2 separate regions of the Homo sapiens genome follow, and region 2 is linked to region 1. The links are contacts of gene promoters, found by promoter capture Hi-C in human tissues and cell types (Jung and others, 2019). All regions are on one chromosome and are shown on one strand. The core of a region is centred on a gene start or on the middle of the fragment in contact, and the rest is flanking DNA. Distances in the headings are between cores, read along the strand shown.

Region 1 (4,542 bases), core at 1,378-3,877:
CTGTTTCAAAAAATACAAAAAAGAACTGATATTATTTTTGTACTATGAATATGGTCTAACTCTCCATTTATGTAGGTCTTTATTTTGCTCAATAGCATCTTTTAATATTTTGCAGGAAAGTCATATACCTTTTAAGTCTTAAAGAATTATTCCTAGATTACTTTGATGTTACAGAGCATCAAAATATTTTTTTCACTTTTTGTTGCAGGTATATTTGTTTCTCATTAATTCATATTCTTCCAAGAGTTTAAGGCAATTTGATTTAAGGAGAAATCATTTCTTAAGAGGATCTTTAAAGTCATATTTGTGAGAGAAGAGAGACAAAGGAAAAATAAGGGTAGTCAAGGTTAAGTTGAAAGGAGTGAAAAAACTAGAATATGCAGGTGATAAAATCCTAAGAACTTGCTAGATACAGATCAAAAAGTTGGCTCTACATTTTCTAGCCACCCACTGTTTTTCTGCTTTAACCAACAAAGTGTTTAACTTTAGAACACAGTAAAAATTAGTCTTCTATGATGTAATGGTTTATGTACAGACAGAAACTACGTTAAAAACAAAAAAACTATAAAATGTACATAGATTCAATGGCTAAAATTACATCATGAGTTTATGGTGTCAGTTTTTCTCAGCCCATTATTCAGAACTCACCTTTCCACTGAATCGTCCGGTTGCCTGACAAAGAATTGATACAATTCAAATGGAGATGTCTTATCTCTGTTTAGCCAAACAGCGTTGCCAGCAGACTTTCCCAGCTTTGCTCCAGTTGTACTTGTAATTAGAGGAACGGTGATTCCAAATACATCTTCTCCAGTCAACCTACGCATAAAGAACAATTTCATTATGTGCCTCAAGCACAAGTGGTGGTAGGTTCTACTGTTCACCTTCCAGATTTCTTTCTGGTTACTTGCTCCAGGAAAACTTCCTTGACCTCCTAAATCTGAATTCTTGTTCCTCTTATGTATTGTTACAGTACTTACTCTATTCATTCTGAACCTCATGAGTGGTTCCAGGCAGGTTCTAGGCAGGCCAAGGGGAAGTGCTACATAACAATGGACTAGAGATTTTGAAAGGCTGAGTGGGAAGGAGAAAACTGGGTGAAGGGGTGTCAGGAAGAGACACTAAAGGAAATCTTCTAAACGCCTTTTAAACATGTGCTTTGCTCTGTTGCACATGAGCTAGCCCTATCCTTCACCTCTCTCAAGAAAATGCTATTAGACCCGCATTACTTGTCAATTATTTGGAGTTGAAAAAACTTTTTGAGATACCAACCAAGGACTAACACTAGTTTCATGGAGGGTGCAGAGCTAAAGCAGAGGCTAGCTACTCAAGGAGGCCCAGTCACGTTCTGGTATAAACACACAAAAGCAGTTTCTCTAATTAGAGAGGACGACTTAGGCGAAGCAAAACAGACCGACCAAATCTTCACTAGTGGTCTGTTTCCCTTTTTTTTTTTTTTTTTTTTGAGACGGAGTCTCCCTCTGTTGCCCCAGGCTGGAGTGCAGTGGCGCGATCTCGGCTCACTGAAACCTTCGCCTCCCGGGTTCAAGAGATTCTCCTGCCTCAGCCTCCCGAATAGCTGGGATTACAGGCGTGCATCACCACGCCCAGCTAATTTTTAGAATACACCGTTTACTCTTAATACCCTTAATTCAGCCCTTTAATTCTTATTAGCCAGTGTTATTAACGCCATTATAGAGCCTTAATGGGGATAAAACCAACAAGAGCTGGAACGAAGGGCAGCAACTACAATCCTAAGAGTGAATCACAGGCTACTAGTGTGTAAATTATTTGGTCCCAGGATTTCCCCAAGGTTTAAAGGCACTTACTTGTTGATGAACTCATATCCGGACATGATGTTGCCTAGTTGATCAGATCCGCCCAGCTGGACCCTGCATCCATAACGCTGGAAGAGGTAATAGAAGTCATAGGCCTGGAGCACCTGGTAAAAGAACTCGGCCAAGCTCATGCCCTCGGGGCTCTTGAGCCGCAGCTGCACGCTCTGCCGGCTCAGCAGCGTCCCCATGCGGAAGTGACCCCCCACTGCCGCCAGGAAGTCCACCAGGTGCTGCTTCTGGTACCAGGCCGAGTTGTCCAGCACAGTGAAGCTGCCCCAGGAGCGCCCATCAGTGAAAAGCTGCTGGTGATTAGCCGCCAGGGCCTCAAGCCCTAGGCGCAGAGCTCGCGCGTTGGCTCGCACGCGCTCTGTCTCCAGCGCCTCGCGTTCCTTGGTACGGCCGCTCGGGTCTCCCAGGCGCGCCGTGGCGCCTCCCACCAGCGCGATCACGTTGTGGCCCGCTCGCTGCAAATGAAACAGGCCCAGCAGCGCAAGTAGATGACCCACATGAAGCGAGTCTGCCGTGGGGTCGAAGCCACAGTAAATGGTTTGGGGAAAACTCGCCGTGCCACGGTCGAAGAGCTCTGGGAGCTCTATTTTCGTCCCCGTCTCCGGGAAGAAGTCCTTGAACAGACCTCGAGCCTTCTGCGCTGCCAGTAACCCCTGAGCGCCCGAGTGGGCCTTACGCAGCCCCAAGGGCAACAATACTGAGAGATTTAGGGTACCAGACCACCGGCCCCAGGAAAAGGACCGCAAGATGGGCGCCGCCATCTTGGTAGCGGCACGAAGGGAATGCTGGGATTGCAGAGGCTCCCACCACACCCACCTACTTACAGCTCCTAGGGAAGGTGCTTCAGTGTTTTTCTGCGCATGCCCGAGACGGTTACGTAGTTACGGAGCTTGCGCTCTCAGCAGTTGAGTCCCGACTCCAAGTGGCGATTCCGCCTCAGAGCCGTCGCCTTACGTTCCCTTAAACTTAATTTTTCCATCAGCAGTGTGGATCTGCTTATGATAGTTCCTACCTCATAAGGCTGTTGTGAGCCTTAAAAATTAAAGCATTTGGCACATAACGCTTCACAAATGCTAACTTGTATTTACATTTTCACGTAAAAAGATTGTGATGCGCAAGTTCTTTGAAGTCTTGGTTCCATGCAAAAAGCTGTTCACAGAGGTTGAGAAAGGTTAGGAATTGGTTTAAGTTCGCGGAGAGATAGGGAGTTGCTGCTGAGACGCAAGCAATTTCATAGTACCGATTCCCTAATTGCACCTCGTCCCCAGTATTCATCGGCTCTTCCAGGAGGTGGCAGTCTTGTCCAAGGTATAGCAAGAAAAACTCAGTGCAATAAAGTACATGCATCAAGTCCTGTGGTTTATTTATTTTAAATACAGTTAACTAGGTTGGGACACAGCTTAGCATGAGTGGATTCAAGTTAGTAATCACATCGTGCAGCGTGACAGGTGCTCTGAATACTGACCAGGGATGAGGTTCTTATTGGCAGCTGGCTGGCAGGTGATCTAGCTTCAAAATCCCATGTTAGAGCCTGATTTCTAGGACCGCTTTCAAAATCGTCTTAGGTAGAATTCCCTGGACTCTGAGTTGGGGGGGAGACTGGTTTGCAGGAGGGTAATTGGAGTGTGCTCTTAAGAACAACACCTATAATGGAGTGAGGGAGGCCGGGTTGGGCGGAGGGAGAAAGAAGTTGAACTGTGAACAATTTGTAATAGAGGCCTCAGGCAATCCAGTAAGGGCTCTGGAGCCGGGATTTCCTTTCAGAGTCATCCTGAATTGAGGCCAGGGGGCAGACCTTTAGACCCTCTTACTGACTGCTCATTAAATGTGGGATGTTTCTGGGGAGGAAGCAAAACGCTGGGTTAAGGCTTTTGGAGAGTGAGATGTGCAGGAAGGGACTCAGCTGTGAGCAATAAGCAACCAACACTCCCAGCAGCTGGGGGATTGAGTGCCTTGGTCCTGTGACTGGGATCTGGGCCATGTTCCAAATCATTCCCTACAGGACTTTTCCATTTTTTAACGTTATAAAGTTATCTAACAAAATGAAAACTTATTTTAATAATTAGTTTCTTTGCATGTATAATTATCAGTGAATTAGTTTCTCATTGCCAAATAGTAACTTCAATAGGATTTTGAGATACTCATTCAATAGGCTATTAAACATACTCCCAACTGCTTAAGAAAATAGTGTGTTCAAAATATCTTAAAATTTGCAATCATAACCTGTTGATCTTCAGTGTTTTTTTTTTTTTTAAGTGTCACTCTGTTGTCCACACTGGAGTGCCGTGGCAGGATCATGGTTCACTGCAGCCTTGAACTCCTAGGCTCCAGCGATCTTCCTGCCTCAGCCTCCCAAGTAGCTGGAGCTACAGGTGTGGACTACCATGCCTGGCTAATTTTTATTTTTTGTTTTTGTAGAGACGGGGGTCTCACTGTATTGCCCAGGGTGGTCCTAAACTCCTGGCCTCAAGCAAGCTTCCCACCTCTGCCTCCCAAAGTGTTGGGATTACAGGCATGAGCTACTTCGCAAGGCCAATCTGCAGTCATATGGTCCACCACTTTGATCAGGGACAGATTTCAGTAGGTATGGCAGGAAATTCTCCTGAGCACACGTAAGGAAACTCACATCTGGGCCACTTGTCACTTGAAAGCCAAAAACCCAAGAGAAGAGCTGTAGTGAAAGTAAAGTTAGCTTTAT
Region 2 (4,542 bases), core at 1,193-3,692, 650 kb after region 1:
CACACAATCACTAGGGTTACTAGTATATTCAGCATTAGGTGCCTGAATTATTATTAGTAGAAATGAAATTCTACCTTTGCAGGATCTTAGACATAAATTCCATAACTCTGCAAGGCTTATTCCGATAATTTGGGTAATAATTAGTCACATAGCATTGTAAGTCAAATAAAAAACAATATATTGGTGGAATTACTACTTACTGTGGTAGCACAGTGAATATCTTTCCATACTGTGGCTTCCCTGGAGAGATCAGAGACTTCAAACAAATTATCAAGAATCACTTCCCCAATCATGTCATGTCTAGAAAATCTGTCAAAATCATACACACTGAAATGTAGTTTTCGGTTGCTTAGTTGATCATATGCTACAGGAAATTGAAAAGTTTCATCAAATAGAGGATTTAAAGTCTTTCTGTGCACGCGGGTCTGAAATTTCTTTTTCCTATCTGGAAGAAGATACATCTTCACATAAGGGTCAGAAGTTCCTGTGAAGTCTTTAGCAGGGAGATCTAAAGCTTTGATAATTTTAACAACTAGAAGTTCATTTTCATAATCATACTGGAGGGTAAAGTTAAGTTTCCCACAGATTTTGACATCTTCGTTTTGGTTGCCCTCAGAGTCAACTGATTTCTGTTTGTAGAGTTCTGGCTTTATCCTCCCAATGCTGGTTGTTGTTTCTCCTCGTTGTAAAACAGGTTCTGTGCCCATGCTAAAATCAACACTGGAAACCTGCATTTGCCTCGGCAGGTGTCTTCGGAAGGAACTGTGGCTGAACACACACACATATACACAAAATCATTGAGGGAGATCATTTTGATGAGAATGTTATACAGTGACATATAAACTCTTCCCCACCCCCAGAATAGTGAAAAGATATCTATATCTACATAGATAGACACATACATATAATCAAAGAGGTACTTTTGAAAAAATAAAGAAGTACAATATTCAAAGAGAAGTCTCCTAAAATTCCAGAACATCTGAAACACTTAAATGTTCTTTTTGTTTGTTTGTTTTGTTTTGTTTTTTGTTTTTTGAGACAGGATCTTGTTCTGTCACCCTAGCTGGAGTACGGTAGTGCTATTATAGCTCACTGTAGCTTAAAACTCCTGAGCTCAAGCCATCCTCTGGCCTCCGCCTCCTGAGTAGCTGGGACTACAGGCATGTGCCACCACACCTGCCCAGTTAATTTTTAAATTTTTTGTAGAGACAGAGTCTTGCTATGTTGCCCAGGCTGGTCTTGAACTTCTGGGCTCACGCAATCCTCTCACCTCAGTCTCCCAAAGTGCCGAGATAACACAAGTGAGCCACAACACGTGGCTGGCCAATGTTAATTTTCATATGCTTTTGAAATTTTGTACTCTCAATCATAAGCACATAATTAAAAACAATTCTAAAGAAACATGATTAGCAAAAAAATTCAATATTCCACAGAAAATTGTGAATGTTATCAGTCATCTGGGTCTATCTAGATGTAAGTATTATACAGACAAAATCATTCAGATGGCTGGTTTCTTTTCACCTGGATATTTGAGTCTCATGAATTTCACATTTTAGTGACTATAGTATTAAAATTAAAAACATGTTATAGGTCCACATTTTCTTATAATGAGTTGTTTCTAATTCTTAATCTAACTAAATACATATTTACTTTTAAAAAGAATATATAGTTGTGGCAGCCAAAAATGAGTACATTTTCTTTTTTTCAACATGCTGTGGTCTTCAGAAACTCTAAGGATAAAAACAAACGTAGAATTTTAGAATTTGAGCCCAACAAAACAAGTTTTTAAAAATTCAGACTGAATTTCCTATAGTCACTATTACTACTCATCTAGTCAACATTTCCAGAATATTAAATATATAAGCTTACTAATGTCTTCTACATGTGACTTGCATTAAAGATCTGCTGCTTTTATACTTACTCCATGCTTTCTGGCACGAACTGTGCCAAACTACCCATCTCCTCAAAGCTTAGTCCCACGTCTTTTGTTATATTTCTTGTCAGTCTGTTCATCAGACTAATCATCAGTTCTTGGACTATAATTATTGTCTTGAATCTGATGGTTTCTCAGATAAATCCCAGCTACATAAACTTCTAGTCCCGTATCTCTAAATTTCTAAGGAAGATTTCTAAACAGATGTCTTCATTTCTCCCCAAATGCAACCAAACTCATCATTTTCTCCCTTTTGCTTGCAAATCGGTTCTTTATCCCACAATCTCTGACAATAGCACTAATATTTTTTATCAGTCACTCATGCTTCCAAGAATGAAGTATGCTTTGAATCATTCTCCCTTTACCCATAGGATTTACTCAGTTTTCTAAATCCTGTTGCTTTTCCTTTGAAACATCTCATATAGTTGTTCATTCCACTCCTTTTCCATTGCTGTGGAGTCCAGATCCTTATCTCCATATATTTTGCTTTCTCTAGTCACCTTCAGCTGGCTTTTTTTTTTCCTTCCAGCTCTGTCTTATACTTAATACCCAGTCAGTGCACCCTCAGAACACTCATTTCAAAATACTTTATTCACTTCTGTTGTCTATTGCAGCAGGTCTACACCTGTTACAGCACTAAGTAATATAGATGACATTGCATGATTAATATTTGATTCACTGATGCACACATGAAGCTCGATTTCTTTTTTTTCGAAATGGGTTCTCACTCTGTCACCCAGGCTGGAGTGCAGTGACACAATCTTGGCTTACTGCAACCTCAACCTCCCAGGTTGAGGCGATTCTCCTGCCTCAGGCTCCCAAGTAGCTGAGATTAGAGGCTCCCACCACCGCACCTGGCTAATTTTTGTATTTTTGGTAGAGATGGGGTTTCACCATGTTGGCCAGGCTGGTCTCAAACTCCTGACCTTAAGTGATTTGCCCACCTCCACCTCCCAAAGTGCTGGGATTACAGGCGTGAGAACATTGATTTCTTTTCTTTTTTTTTTTTTGAGACGGAGTCTCACTCTGCCGCCCAGGCTGGAGTGCAGTGGCGTGATCTCGGCTCACTGCGAGCTCCGCCTCCCAGGTTCATGCCATTCTCCTCCCTCAGTCTTCCGAGTAGCTGGGACTACAGGCGCCCCCTACCACGCCCGGCTAATTTTTTGGTATTTTTAGTAGAGACTGGGGTTTCACCATGTTAGCCAGGATGGTCTCGATCTCCTGATCTCAAAGAAGAGTTTACAAATTAGTGACCATCCATAAGTGAGATGCCTGGCCACAATACCATTTGAGAAGTAGTGACAGGAGCTGAGGATGTTGAACCTAGAAAGGAGAAGTTGAAGAATAGGGTAAAGATGGATTAAGGCTAGCTGTCTTCTAATGCCCGAAGGACTGTCATGACAGCATTTAGGAATTTATGGAAGGTGCAGGAAGATAAACTTTAGCTTAATATAAAGGAACGTTTAAAATAATCTAGAGCTATCCAACACAGTGAAGTAGTGAACTTCCTCAAGCTGGAAATGTAGAACAAAGGTTAGATGCTGAAGAAAAATATTTCTGCCTCACATAAGATTTTGGCAAGTCTAGCATCTCACTTGAGGCAGGAAACATTAAGTGTTCTCTAACCTTAAGTTTATTCTGTGATTCTCTTTCATTCTATAGTCCTTCAGTAATTTTACGGGCCTAAATGTTTACAACGCAGTATCAATATTATGTGCATTAATAGAATGGAATTTGTTAAAATCAGAATTATAATCTAAGGTGTTGCCAAGTTCATTCTCTTACGTTTAATTTGCTTATTTACTTTAACTGGACTGAACTGTTGAGCAGTAATTCAAAAAACACCATAAGAAGTGCTTAGGGCTGTATTGAAACTAATTCAACCTCTCTCTATGGTCCCCTTTCATACAGATAAGGAAGACAAACTGAAATGAGCTGTGAGAGTATCAGTAGCTCTGCTTGTTTCTACTGTACTATTCACAGACTTCTCAGACATTTGTTTAAAGGACCTATCGTTCAATACATATATTGCAAATTAAAGATTCAAACTAGTAAAGTGGTGGAAGGGTGTCACAGGTGAAAGTAAACTGCAGTGTTTTTGAAAGATCTCGTCCTCCACATTCTGCTCAGCTTCACCCAAAGAATGAGAAGCTTTAGTGTGCTGTCACAGAGAATTATATGGATAAAAGGAGAAAGTCTATGGAAAAATGATATTCTAATATCAGATTAGTGCTAAAGTATGCCAAGAATTAGAATATGAAAAAAATAATGTCAAATACAATTTGGAAGAAAATAAAAAATAATAATAAAAGATGGGAAAAAATACAGAAATATACACTAAAACATTTTCACAATAAAAAGTTAGGATGCCTTTGCTCTTCAGATGTTGCCAGTAAAAGCTAACATAGGAGTACTTACGATGTTGCAGGTATGGGTATAAATTCTTTATCAATTCAACTGAGCCTCATGTAACCCAATCAGGTACTTACTATTATGTTCCCAAATGAGGACACTGAGGCACAGAGAAGTGAGTAATGCATTCAAAGTCTTGCTGGTAAGCAGGTGCTAAAATTAAAATTTCACTGAGGCAGTCTGGGTCTAGTGGCCAC

Evidence for each region. Contacts are between HindIII fragments. The study calls those that stand out against the background at their distance.
Region 2: a contact is called between a fragment that was not itself captured here and the fragment with the promoter of YARS2 in region 1, in 1 of the 25 tissues and cell types used here (H1 embryonic stem cells).

The regions. Positions count from the first base shown.
Region 1 is chr12:32,753,270-32,757,811 of GRCh38, forward strand. It overlaps YARS2 (tyrosyl-tRNA synthetase 2), which reads right to left and starts at 2,628. Exons shown (of 5, transcript NM_001040436.3): 1 at 1,827-2,628; 2 at 649-816. The coding sequence starts at 2,605. RefSeq lists enhancers at 1,568-2,207, 1,764-1,923, 2,208-2,847, 2,294-2,393, 2,414-2,643 and 1 more. The HindIII fragment of the contact is 8,220 bases long and covers 1-4,542 here.
Region 2 is chr12:33,406,589-33,411,130 of GRCh38, forward strand. SYT10 (synaptotagmin 10) reads right to left here. Exons shown (of 7, transcript NM_198992.4): 3 at 201-768. Among named protein-coding and RNA genes, the nearest start is that of SYT10, 31 kb to the right of the region's middle. The HindIII fragment of the contact is 4,662 bases long and covers 112-4,542 here.